3 separate regions of the Homo sapiens genome follow, and regions 2 and 3 are each linked to region 1. The links are contacts of gene promoters, found by promoter capture Hi-C in human tissues and cell types (Jung and others, 2019). All regions are on one chromosome and are shown on one strand. Each heading gives the region's core, a stretch centred on a gene start or on the middle of the fragment in contact. The rest is flanking DNA. Distances are from core to core; before and after follow the strand shown. Region 1 holds the start of PSMD11 (proteasome 26S subunit, non-ATPase 11). Region 2 overlaps MYO1D (myosin ID). Region 3 overlaps MYO1D (myosin ID).

Evidence for each region. Contacts are between HindIII fragments. The study calls those that stand out against the background at their distance.
Region 2: a contact is called between a fragment that was not itself captured here and the fragment with the promoter of PSMD11 in region 1, in 1 of the 25 tissues and cell types used here (dorsolateral prefrontal cortex).
Region 3: a contact is called between a fragment that was not itself captured here and the fragment with the promoter of PSMD11 in region 1, in 2 of the 25 tissues and cell types used here (dorsolateral prefrontal cortex and hippocampus).

The regions. Positions count from the first base shown.
Region 1 is chr17:32,442,401-32,446,909 of GRCh38, forward strand. It overlaps PSMD11 (proteasome 26S subunit, non-ATPase 11), which reads left to right and starts at 2,110. Exons shown (of 14, transcript NM_002815.4): 1 at 2,110-2,214. The coding sequence starts at 2,124. RefSeq lists a silencer at 1,830-1,999 and enhancers at 1,891-2,506, 2,120-2,199. The HindIII fragment of the contact is 9,367 bases long and covers 1-4,509 here.
Region 2 is chr17:32,772,619-32,777,127 of GRCh38, forward strand. MYO1D (myosin ID) reads right to left here. Exons shown (of 22, transcript NM_015194.3): 4 at 3,246-3,411; 5 at 171-224. Among named protein-coding and RNA genes, the nearest start is that of MYO1D-DT, 100 kb to the right of the region's middle. The HindIII fragment of the contact is 4,466 bases long and covers 33-4,498 here.
Region 3 is chr17:32,735,672-32,740,180 of GRCh38, forward strand. It overlaps MYO1D (myosin ID), which reads right to left. Exons shown (of 22, transcript NM_015194.3): 14 at 2,582-2,714. Among named protein-coding and RNA genes, the nearest start is that of MYO1D-DT, 140 kb to the right of the region's middle. The HindIII fragment of the contact is 8,518 bases long and covers 1-4,509 here.

The DNA.
Region 1 (4,509 bases), core at 860-3,359:
GTTGCCTTTTCTCCCTGTCCTATTGTAGAGTGTGCCAGCCAGCTTCCCTAATTCAGAATTCTGCAGGCTAGAAGTGGGTGCCCATCTTCATGAATGTGCACACATGCCAAACTCCTCAAGAGACATGTCTAGTTCATCTCAAAACTTTCACCATGATGATCACACAGGGATGGGCTCATAAGTTTCCACAGTCAGCAAGACTCACTAGCTTGGGAGAAAGATCTGGCAGACACTCCTAGTCTTTTACAGTGGGGGTCCCCAACCCTGGGCCAAGGACCACTACTGGTCAGTGGCCTGTTAGGAATCAGGCCTCACAGCAGGAGGTGAGCGGCTGGGGAGCCAGCATTACTGCCTGAGCTCCGCCCCCTGTCAGATCAGCTGCAGCATTATATTCTCATAGGAGGCAAACCCTATTGTGAACTGAGCATGCCAGGGATTTAGGTTGCCTGCTCCTTATGAGAATCTAATGCCTGATGATCTGAGGTGGAACGGTTTCATCCCAAAACCATCCCCCCTCCTCACATCCGTGGAAAAATTGTCTTCCACAAAACTGGTCCCTGGTGCCAAAAATGTTGGGGTCCACTGTTTTATGGTACTCCCTCTTTGTAGTGAGGCCAGCACTCTATCCTCTCCTATGATTTCTTCTAAAGCCTCCCACCTCAGCCTCCCAAGTAGCTGAGACTACAGGCGTGCGCCACCATGCCCGGATAATTTTTGTATTTTTAGTAGAGTCGGGGGTCTATGTTGCCCAGGCTAGTCTCAAACTCCTGGGCTCAAGCGATATGCCCACCTCGCCCTCCCAAAGTGCTGGGATTACAGGCATGAGCCACCGCGCCTTGCTAGAAGCCATTTAATCCAACTCTCCATCAAAGTCATGAATCCTGTTTACAACAACCTGATGAGATGTCAACTACTTTTCACGTGAACACACCCAGGAATTAGGAAGGCATTCCCTAACCGGCAGCTCTTATCTCTCCCAATCACGATTTGAGCTTCACCAAATAACTCAAACCCCTGTTTCCTCACATATTAAAGGGGAGTAAATATCTGCTTTACAGAACATTGTTGGGAGAATAAAAGGAGATAGAGGAATATAAATGGCCTAATCCACTTACAGAGGAGGGTGTGCAATGTTAGTCCCCTTTTTGCCTCCTTTTATGGGACAGCACATTCCATTTTTGGATCGTCATCACCTAGAGAAAGGTCTTCCTTAATACTGAATTGTCTTTGTATCCTTTTAGCACCTTTCTTAAGTTTAACCCTAAGTGGTCTCATAGAATGTCATTTTTCCGTCCACACGACGTCTTCACTGATATCTGTGACTTTAGTTGAAGGGGCTGAAGATATTGGGAAGAATAATTCAATTTTTTCCTTCCTCCGTCCCTCCCTCCCTCCCTTCCTTCCTTCCTTTTTTTTTTTTTTTCTTTGAGCTGGGGAGCTGGGTGAGGCTTCTGTGGATTCCCAAGAGGTATTTGTGGCGTGAATGGAGCAAAGGTGATGTTTCACTTCATCACGTCCAGCACTGTCCCAAGGTTAAATGGGCGCGTGAGGACAGTTTTCTCCGGTCCTGGCGGGTTTGCCCACCTGCCGGCCAGCGTTCTGCGGGAGTCAAGCCTGGAAAGCGTGTGTGCGGCGCACAGGCGTCAGACACTGGAACGCATTCGAATGGTGCTATTCTTTGCCACATAGCGAGCACTTTATAAGGTCACTTATCGTCCCGAATGAATGGTTAAATCGTGGAAGCCGCAAAGAAAGCCACGCAGCTTTGACTCAATACCTAGCCCAGTACTCAGGAACCCCTCTCAGGGGTGCGCGAGCGGGGCCGGAATCAAGAAGCCTCTTTTGGGGTGGGCGGGGACCGATCTAGAGCTCCCACTGCGGGGCACCGCCTCTTTTCCTCGCCGGCCGCCCGCTAGGAGGCGCTGGGGAGCTTGCAGCCCACCTGCGAGGCGGTCCCGCTCTCCCCACCCCTCAGCCCGCGCCCGGCGGAGAGACTACAACTCCCGGAGTGCTCTGGGAACGGAGCCACGGGAGCTACAGGCGGAGGGACCCGAGGGCGGGCTTTCCGGGTGTGTGTTTCCGGCGTCGGCGGCCGCGGCCGGGGACGGTGTGAGAGCGGTAAGATGGCGGCGGCGGCGGTGGTGGAGTTCCAGAGAGCCCAGTCTCTACTCAGCACCGACCGGGAGGCCTCCATCGACATCCTCCACTCCATCGGTAAAGGTCGCCGCGCCGCCTCCCCGGCCCCGCCGGCCCAGCTCGGCTTATGTCGGTCGGCGGCAGCGGAGAGGGGCCCGGCTAGCCGGCTCTGATGCTGCTGACTCACTGTGTGAGGGGGGCCGGGCCGGGGGCGCAGGCCGCTCGGAGCTCCCCAGAGCCTCCCAGGTCTCACTCTTGTGGGAGGGCTTGAGGCAATCCCCGGGTCCCCTCGCCGGCTGCTGACTCACGGGGGGCTCAGCGTAGGGTGGGAGAGTGGGCCGAGCCGGGCCCCCGGGGATCCCTCCCTAGCCATGTCCCCGGCTCTGGCCCGCACGAGCTGGTCTGGGACCCGGAGCAGTGCCGGCCGGCGTGCTTGTCACGGACTGGTCCTAGAGTCTCTACTTGAAAGGCCTTGGCGAAACCAGCTCTGGACAGGCATTTCCCGCCGTTGTAATCAGCACAGCCTGCTCCGGGTGGGAGCGCGAGCGCTTGCTCTTCTCTGGGAGTTTCCTTCCACGGGACGCTGGGAGCTGCTACTCCTCAGCCCCACGGCAGAAAGCTCCACTAAGAGGAGGGTCTCTTTCAGAATGTGGGAAATTCAGGGGTGACACACACCTCAGATTGGCATTTGGTTTGTGGAGGTGGCCGAGACGCTCATCTGCTCTGTGTAGGGTGTAAGAGTGAGGTGTTGGAGCGGGACCGCCTGGCTAGAGGAGGTGACTAATCTTTCCAGACTGCCTGTAGGGGTTGGAAGTGAGTTAAGGGAGTTAGTTGTCAGCCGCGGAGTTCAGGGAATTCTTTGGAACGGGTCGGCTGCATGTTGCCGGAAAAATTAAAATTTCTTAACGCTGTAATAACGATGGTCTTACACCTACACACAACAGGAAAACTGAAATGGGAATCCCAGCCAGTCGCTTCCGGCAGCTTTCTGTTGGGATTCAAGTGTGAACAGAAATTTATTACGACAGAAGAAGACGTTAATGTTCACTCATAAAGGATTCAATTAGGGCTTGGACTAGCTCTTCACTGCACATGTAATGGCATCTTTGTAGTGTAGTTTGGGAAGATCTGAATTGGCTCAACAAGTAGTATGAGAATGCACCTGTATGTGGGACTTGCAAGATGTTGGCATTTGACTTAGTGTGTTGAATTTTGGTATTCCAGACCTGCACGGAGAAAGGACAATGACAAGATCTTGATACTTTATCATTGGGGATACTAGAGAAGGAGAGGAAGTGGGCGTCAAGGTGTATCTTTGAATGATATTGGTAAAAGGTGTTTCATTTTAAAAGTTCTGATCTTAGGTCAGTTACTTCTACGGAACCAGAGTCATCTCAATCACCGTTACATGGATATTTTATTCTGAGTACACACTATTATTTAGAACTAATGTGAGGAGCATGAATTTTAATAGTCTGTGTCTAGTGTCTAATATTTTTTCTTTCATAAAGTAGAAATTACGTCAAATATTACAATTAGAGTATTTCCTGTTGGCCCACTATTCTAGGGGAGAGTTCCCTGAAAGCTTCACTGTTAGAGCAAGCTTGAGTCATGGTGGTTGACGGCCTTACTTTTTCTGGACTCCATCATGGTTTTTGTCAAGTCATGATGCTTTGTAAGAGTAGTAGTAACTAGTGATGATCACTACAAACTTGGAGAGGCTATTCCATGTTTGAATGTTAAAATAGTTATTAACTGTTGAAAATAGGACAGATAGCACAAAGTTATTTTAACAGACCTCAATGCATTAAAAAGCAGCAGTCTCCCCTAAGTGTAGCTGTGCAGGATCTGGGGCTTTGATAGAGTTGTTTTTCTTGAATGGCTTTATAGACCTGCTTATCCCTAACACACCCATCAGCTGAGGCTTTGCACAGACCTAAAGTTTATTGAAACGCTTTTGACTTACAGGCATCAGTAACTTGGTCAATTGATTTTAGTTTGTGGCATAAACGCACAGGCATGTTTAATATCTTCCCATAAAATAGTGACTGGAACAGATCTTGGCACCATAAGTATGAAGGATTTGTTTTGTTTTAATTTCACTTTAACCAAGTGACCACAACAGAAACTTAGTGTATGTAGGTAAGCAAAATTCTGCTGGGTAGAATGAAAAGGCACATTTAAAATCAAAGAGAAGAATCCTTTTTTTATGATTTACATGGAGCATATTCTACGTATATATGATCTTTTTTTTTTCCTGGCTTAGAGTTTTTTTTTTTTTTTTAACTCTAGAATTTGTCTTTTGGTAAATATGTTTGAGTTTGTAATGGATCTTATGAGGGTGAAATTTCCCTCAGTCTTCATTTTTTGGTC
Region 2 (4,509 bases), core at 1,016-3,515, 330 kb after region 1:
AAGCAGGTAGGGCAGGGCATGTGGTGCGTGCGTGCGTGCGTGCATGCGTGACATGTTACGGGGCCAATGGAGATGAGTGATGCATAGGACAGGGGAAAGCCCAAGACACAAATACTCATTTCCTGCACAACTGGGCAAATGATCAATTATCTGTATAATGGATTACTAACCTGATAGAAAGAATGAAAGCTTCTTTCTCCTGGCTGTTGCACAATCACTCGAGACTAAGAAAAAACACATTAAAATGGTTAACCCGAAAATGTGCCCCTAAAATAAAACAGGAGCCACTTTCTTAGGGAACTGTCAGGCCTCTGAGCCCAAGCCTGCACGTATACATCCAGATGGCCTGAAGCAACTGAAGAATCACATAAGAAGTGAAAATGGCAGATTCTTGCCTTAACTAATGACATTTGGTGCCGTGACTTGGATCGGGGGAGCTCCCTTGGGAGATCAATCCCCTGTCCTCCTGCTCTTTGCTCTGTGAGAAAGACTGACTTACGACCTCAAGTCCTCAGACCAACCAGCCCAAGGAACATCTCACCAATTTTAAATCAGGTAAGCGGCCTCTTTTTACTCTCTTCTCCAACCTCTCTTACTATCCCTCAACCTCTTTCTCCTTTCAATTTCGGCGCCACCCTTCAATCTCCCCCTTCCCTTAATTTCAGTTCCTTTCCTTTTCTGGTAGAGACAGAGGAGACGTGTTTTATCTGTGAACACAAAACTTCAGCACCGGTCACGGATTCGGGAAGACAGTCTTCCCTTGGTGTTTAATCACTGCAGGGACGCCTGCCTGATTATTCACCCACACTCCATTGGTGTCTGATCACTGTGGGGACACTTGCCTTGATCCTTCACCTTGGTGGCAAGCACCACTTTCCTGGGTGGCAAGTACCAACCCCACCCCACTCCCTACCCCCACCCCCCGACCCCGGCCCATGTCTCTACCCTCTCTTTTCTCTGGGCTTGCCTCCTCCACTATGGTCAACCTTCCACCCTCCATTCCTCCTTCTTCTCCCTTAGCCTGTGTTCTCAAGAACTTAAAACCTCTTCAACTCACACCTGACCTAAAACCTAAACACCTTATTTTCTTCTGCAATACCACTTGACCCCAATACAAACTCAACAATGGTTCCAAACAGCCAGAAAACAGCACTTTAAATTTCTCCATCCTACAAGGTCTAGACAATTATTGTCGTACAATGGGCAAATGATCTGAGATGCCTGACGTCCAGGCATTCTTTTACACATCGGTCCCTCCCTAGTCTCTGCTCCCAATGCGACTTGTCCCATATCTTTCTTCTTTCTCTCCTGTCTGTTCCTTTAGTCTCCACCCCAAGCTCTGAGTCCTCTGAATCCTCCTTTTCTACAGGACCTCTCCCCTCCTCCCCAGGCTGTGCCTTGCCAGGCTGAGCCAGGTCCCAATTCTTCCTCAGCCTGTGCTCTCCCACCCTATAATCCTTTTATCACCTCCCCTCCTCACACCCGATCTGGCTTACAGTTTCGTTCCATGACTAGCCTTCCCCCACCTGCCCAACAATTTCCTCTTAAAGAGGCGGCTGGAGCTAAAGGCATAGTCAAGGTTAATGCTCCTTTTTCTTTATCCGACCTCTCCCAAATCAGTTAAATATCCTAAAGACCCCCATGGATTGTATACTCATCTAAGAATGAGTCTTCTCTATGGGGTTTCCCCTGCAATTCTTTGATAATTCTTTTTATTGCTTAAAACAGAGGTCCCTAAAACTTTCTGAAGAATGAAGCTATTTTGATTTTTTTAACCTGGAGCCTAAAGATGGAATTTGGTGGTTGGGGGTGGGGTAAGAATTAGAAGTGGGGAGAATAGGAAGGAATGCTTAGGGAGGAATATTCTCAACATTCCTTTCCCCAGGGTCTGCTGGCATTTCAAAGAGCAATGCCTTATATCCTGTAATAAAAGTCAGTTGAGCAAGATCAATCCATAGAGACCTCTGCCTTAGATGGTTCCAAAAATACTGCTGTTAGGAGAGGGTTCAAAATATGAGTTCATTCAAAAGGATCCTTTTGATTGAATATGTATTACACATAAAGTGAACTGATGAAACATTCTGGAAAAAGGACTGATAATAATACCTGGCATTTCCTGTCCTTTTTCAACTGACTCTGATAATACATTTATTTCCTTAACAGTCCGACTTCAATATAACAAACAAAAATAAAGATTATACTTCATTATATGGCCATAAAGGATGCTATGGCCTAACTGGGATAGGAAACCCTTAACTGAGAAAACCTGTCGGCTTAGATCTGTATGAATTCAAGGTGGAGACTTGATTTTATAAAGCACAAGCTTAACTGTAAAAATGAACTCTATGTATTCTCTTGCAGTCATGTCCACTGATAATCAAGATTAGTTAAGACACAACCAGCTGGGTGCAGCAGCTCATGCCTGTAATCCCAGCACTTTGGGAGACTGAAGCAGGAGGGCTGCTTGAGCCTAAGAGTTTGAGACCAGCCTGGGCAACACAGGGAGACCCCATCTCTACAAAATAAAAAAAAAATTGCTGGGTATGGTGGGCCATGCCTGTGGTCCCAGCTACTCAGGAGGCTGAGGTGGGAGGATTGCTTGAGCCTGGGGGGTTGAGGCTGCAGTGAGCCATGTTCATGCTACTGCACTCCAGCCTGGATGACAGAGTGAGACTCTGTCTCAAAAAACACAAAACCAAACCAGACACAACCTCTCTGGTGGTCCCAAGAAGAAAATTCTAATTGGAATCCTCTAGAAATTGGGCCTATTTTAAGTTTTTACTGACCAAATACAGTTCGCTTCATAATTAGGATGTAAGATCACAAAATACATATATGTTACTATAAAGCAATGAACAAATAGAAACTAGAAGAAAATGAGATATCAAATTAATTAAAATTAAAATGTATAGAAGATGGTGATGTATAAAAAGGCTAGAACTGATTAGTCTTAGATTGACTTTCGGTTAAACCTTACCCAGAAGCTGGCACACACTCATACCTGTGCCCCCACCCATTCACACGCATAGCTAAATCTATCTACAAAGTCCACAACTTTTTCCAACTTGACAGTGTAAGTGCTAAGAAGAGAAGACAAAAGGAGAATACCTTATCATAAAAAGCTAATGAAGAAGGGAGAATAGGATTTAAAGCTATTTTGAGTCAATAAAATAAATTCTATAAATATAATTTGTTTAAACATTCAGCACTTAAAACATTACCCTCAGAAATTAAGCATATTTTACCTTTTCTAGTAAGTAGTTATTGATATGCCCACCAATAGGGTCACCCTTGAAGTCAAAGTTGATATCCATGTATTTTCCAAACCTGCTTGAGTTGTCATTACGGTTGGTTTTGGCATTTCCAAAAGCTTCCAAAACACAGTTGGACTTAAGCAACATATTCTTCACTCTTTAACACAGATAAATGAAAGTCATTATAAAAACTTATAGAGACTAGAATTTTTTAAAAACTGGATTTTGCTAAACCACATACAAATATTTATACAAAGATGCTAACTCCAGCACTGTTTGCAATATCAAAAAAAAAACAAACAAATTAATGTCCACCAATAGGGATAAAAATAAATTTTTGTTTCCCAATATAATGAAATACTATACAGGTGCTAAAAAGAATGAGGTACATCAATATGTACTCACATGGAAATGTCCAGCATATATTAATGAATATAAAATCAAGTTGTCAAATAACATGCATTGCAGGATCCTTGTGTGTGTATGTGTATGTTCACGTGTGTGTGTGTGTGCATACACATGTATCAGCAAATGCTTAAAAATCTGGAGGGATCAGCACACCTTACTATGGTTATCTAGACAGGAGACTGATGGAATGGGCAAGGTAGGATTTCAGGGAACTTTTACATCTTCAACTTAATTCTGTAATTTTTGTTTTTCATTTTATAAATGTACATATTTTATCTACATAAAGAAAATTTTTAAAAAGATGTGTTCTGAAAAGGGAAAGAATAGGTGATACAGAAAATGATACAATTTTTAAGGCACTTGCTTATAAAACCTGGAATTGTGACATTTTATTGTACTTAGTTATACATCATAAATTTAATCTTCACTAGTTCAGAAATTGCTCATTATTTTCTTTGAAGCTGTATGGAATTTCTCCTTTGTACCAGCCATTTAATGCATTCTTTATTCGACGAATGCTAACTTTCTATACAGCAGTCCCTCCCAATGGATACATTTTAAACTTCATGCTATATCCTTGTTTTCATTCCACTGATAAAATTCTTCTTATACAGGCATACCTGCAGAAATAACTTTGGCCTCTGAAATAACTTGATGTAGAAGATCTACTGTTACTCCCGCTAATACTGGAGAGTTCAACCTTATCGCCTCATAAATGAAAGCATATTTTAAAAATATGTGTGTGGGGGGAAACTGCTTGTGATAAGATATGTTTGTGAAAGACTAGTAAATTTATATATGCCTTACTCTACTATTGTAGGTGTGAAATTAATTTATTTCTCATCTA
Region 3 (4,509 bases), core at 788-3,287, 290 kb after region 1:
CAATTTTTCCTTTAAAATTTTTCAGGTTTTTTTTTTCTTTATAGAATTTACAAGAAGTATGGGTATGTTGTTAGGTACCATGTTAGTTCAACATGGCTTGTCTTGGATAATTTTGATATCACTAGTTTATCTGTATTAATACTTGCTTTCTTAAATTCTATGTTCTTTCACATGAATGTTGCTTTTAACCGTTTTTGGTGAGAGGTGGCTTGATATCTTTCTACGTCTTTGTTTTTGAGCTTTCTGCATAGTGTTATTTATGTGTGTCTCCTCTAAGGAGCATATAGCTGGATTTTCCACCTATCTAGTCTGCTTAGTCTATTTACATTATGATGAATACCAATTATTTAGATTTATTTCTATCATATTATTTTGTTCTAAATGCAACTCTTTTTTTTTTTTTCTGCTGTCCTCTAGAACCTCTCAGTCTGGCTTTACCTTCTTGCCTTCTATTGTACTGATAAGTTGTCTATATTCTTCTGCTTATCTCTGCTCCCTCCCTTCTCCCCTGATCTCCATACACACATGGATTGGGAAGCTGTAGCAGAGATTGCTAGGCTAGTTCCCTACTTTATGTCCAGTATCTTTTTCTTACTTTAAAACAGAATTCTTATTGCTAGCTGAGTGCACTGCTGACCAGAATGAAAATGTCCTTCCCAGCTTCCCTGACAACTCTATATAGCAAATGGGGTGTAGCTAAAGTGTGTCAAACTTCCAGGAAGTCTCTTTAAAAAGGAGGAAGTTCCAGCTGCCATCATGGACCAGGAGGTTGGGTGCCAAGCACTAGGATGGTAGAGCGGAAGGACAGAAAGAACTTGGGTCTCTAATAACTTTGGAGCTGCCATGCCAGTCCTGGGATGCCTTCTTCTATACTTCATTTATAGGAGAGAGTAATAAATGTCTCTCTTATTTAAGCTACTAATTCAGGGATCTGTTTCATTAGAAGGTGAATGCAATTCCTGATACAGAAATTATAGAAGGTTCTGGAATTTTTATTTCTTTACATGGCACATTAACTACCAAGTTTAGAAAACAAAACAATTCTTTTTCTAGTTAATTGACTAACTGTAGTTAACTGAATATTTAAAAGTCTTTCATGAAATTCAGTGTTCAACTGTTTCTTGTGTCCTGTGTCTTCCTTCCAGGTTCACTTTTCTTCTTGCTGGATGAAGCAGGCTGCAGTTGACATGCAAAGAAAAGCTGAGATACAAGAGTGAAGAGTCCTAACGGCATTCCAGCCTCCAGTGCCAGTGTCCTTACCCCTGCCTTTCTGGAGGTTTGATTATATAAGCCAACAAATTGTGCTTATATGCGGTCACTTGAGGCCAAAGAATCCTGACAAAAGGAGATAGAAAGCGACCGCACAGATGTGTTCCTGTGGCATTTGCCTAATTTATCTATAGTGAAGTAACCAGAAACAGTATGGATTCAAATTCTTAGAGAGGAAGTTGATTTTTTAAAAAAAGATAACGAAGAAGAAACTACATAGGAGAAGCACCAGAAGAGAAAGATAAAAATGAAGAAACTAAAAATAACATGGCTCAGAATGCTGCCTAATTTATCAAACTTGCCAACAGCAGCAGTTAGGGGTAGAAATATGTTCTTTAAGGGAAAAAACAGACAAAAGTTATCAAATAGTATTAGTCCTTAAAGAAACAATAAAAAACACAAATAATTGTCAATAATACAACTTTTTTTTTTTTTTTTGAGACAAGGTCCTGCTCTATCACCCAGACTGGAGTGTAGTGGTGTGATCTTGGCTCACTGCAACCTCTGCCTCCCAGGCTCAAGCGATCCTCCCACCTTAGCCTCCAGAGTACCTGGGACCACAGGCATGTGCCACCATGCCTGGCTAATTTTGTAACTTTTTGTAGAGGAGGTCTTATTATATTGCCCAGGCTGGTCTCCAGTGATCCTCCCGCCTCAGCCTCCTGAGTAGCTGGGACTGTGGGTGCATGCCACCATGCCTGGCTAATTTTTTAACTTTTTGCAGAAAGGAGGTCTCACTATATTGTCCAGGCTGGTCTCAAGTGATCCTCCCGCCTTGGCCTCCCAAAGTGCTGGGATTACAGGCATAAGCCACAACACCCAGGCCAATACGTCTTTATATTTCAATTATTTAAAACAGCCTAAGGACAATACTTGCATCCTAAATTTCCTCTTAAAACTCTCTGGCCACTTTGTACTCAAACACAATATATAAATGGTACATTTTACAACTTAATTCAAGACTTTACTTATTTATTTTGGCCAGGTCCTGTTTTCAGCACAGCGCTAAAGTTCCTTTTGCTGGGCATGCTGTGCCTTATATATTTTTCAAATCCAAGATTTTTCCCTTGACCATGACAGTAGAATAAAAAGCTCAAATTCAAGACAGATACTAATCTAGGACACCAACAATCGTTCCACTGAGGTGAGATTTTTAAAAATGCAGGAATAAAAATTCTATTATAACATTCACTTTATACATATTCTTCAATCTACATGATTACCTAAAAAGCAAATCATACATACATTCTTTATAATACATCAAGAGGAAATCTATGAGTTAAAATGGATATTTAGAAAAGAAAATAATTACCTTTGATGCAAGGTTGTCTACTAGAGCAATCATAGAATTCTTAAACAAGGTAGCAGCAGTCAGAGGTCGCTTGGTCACCTCTGTAATGCTCAGTTTGCCTTCAGGCCACATATTCTTGAGCACAGGATTTGAACTGAGAAGCACAGAAAAAACAATTCAAATGTCACATTCAAATAAGCTGGATAAAAACTGATAAGCAATTCTGCTGAAATGTATCCTGAGAATCATAATTGGACTACAGATTCAACTCACAAGGCCTAATTGGAATGATGATTCCATCCAGAAAATTATGCTACAAGAATAATGACTGATACTGCAATGCAAATTGAGATGTTTTTCCAAACTATAGCATATTTTAAAAATTATTTAAACTTCTTTAAAGTGACATCCTTATTATACCTACCTAGGACCCTCAAATGGTCAATATGGCTCTTACAATACATATATAAAACAAATTCATTTTTGTGATGGTTAGAAAATGAGGACAAACCACTAGTAGAAAAATGATCCTCAATGTCACAGCAGAAAACATAAAAGTGGCAATATCTTTGAATTAAAGCAAATAATTTATATATTAATAGAACAGGTAACACTACAGAAAGCCTGCTCTTTAAAAAAAAACACAGGTAGGAATATAAAATAACCATTTTTATATTGTCCCTCGTAAATCCCTTTACTGCAGTTCAAATTGTGAACAAATCTGTAGGTAGCATTGGCAGTTACAATATTTTATTGATGTGACATTAGGACTGTTGCAATCCAAATCTAAAAATGCATTTCAGGCCAATTTTCAGGTTAAAATTGTATATTCATAATTTTGCTCTGTGGAGATATTTTTAAAAACGTGTAGTGATCTCAACTGTCATTTTTTTTCTGGTTTCATTTTGGGTGCTTTTGATGTTAAAGCAGTTGGAACTCAAAATGTTGCTTGCTTCCTAGAAACTTTTATCAGAAAAAAACTTTTCTTAAAAAATTGGGGGTTGAGCAACCCAAATGTCCATCAATGATAGACTGGATTAAGAAAATGTGGCACATATACACCATGGAATACTATGCAGCCATAAAAAAGGATGAGTTCATGTCCTTTGTAGGAACATGGATGAAGCTGGAAACCATCATTCTTAGCAAACTATCGCAAGGACAAAAAACCAAACATCACATGTTCTCACTCATAGGTGGGAATTGAACAATGAGAACACTCGGACAGAGGAAGGGGAACGTCACACACCAAGGCCTGTCATGGGGTGGGGGGAGGGGGAGAGATAGCATTAGGAGATATACCTAATGTAAATGACGAGTTAATGGGTGCAGCACACCAACATGGCGCATGTATACATATGTAACAAACCTGCACGCTGTGCACATGTACCCTAGAACTAAAAGTATAATAAAAAAAAATTGGGGGTTGAGAAGAGAAAATAATTAACATTAGCATTCATTGCTAATTGCTCTTACTACTGCTAACATTTTACCCACTTTTTTTCCCTCATATAAAATTTTAAAAATTGAGTTGGATCCCCAAAGCACTCAGAATATTTCTGTATGTAGGTGCTCAAAATAATAGCTGCAAGATGAAAGAGCAGATGAGCGCAGAGCGAAGAAGACAAATGGTAATGTGTGGATTGACTGGGTCTGTGAACACAGACAGAGCAACACTCCCAGCCCCCACCATCACCAGCAAGCAGTGCCAACTACTGTCAAAGTGGCTACAAAATGCTGCAATAACCTGTGGCTTATGAACCCAGTTTCATTACTTTCTAGTCCTATTCCATAATTTTCCATTTGTACACTTATATCAAAATGACTACATAGATGTATATTGTTTTTCCTTAACTTTTTCATTCTTATCTTTAGCACAGAAATAATTTAAGGCAACGTTCTTAACTTACAGTGCACATGGTGCCTGAATGCCATTCTAACATTTACTG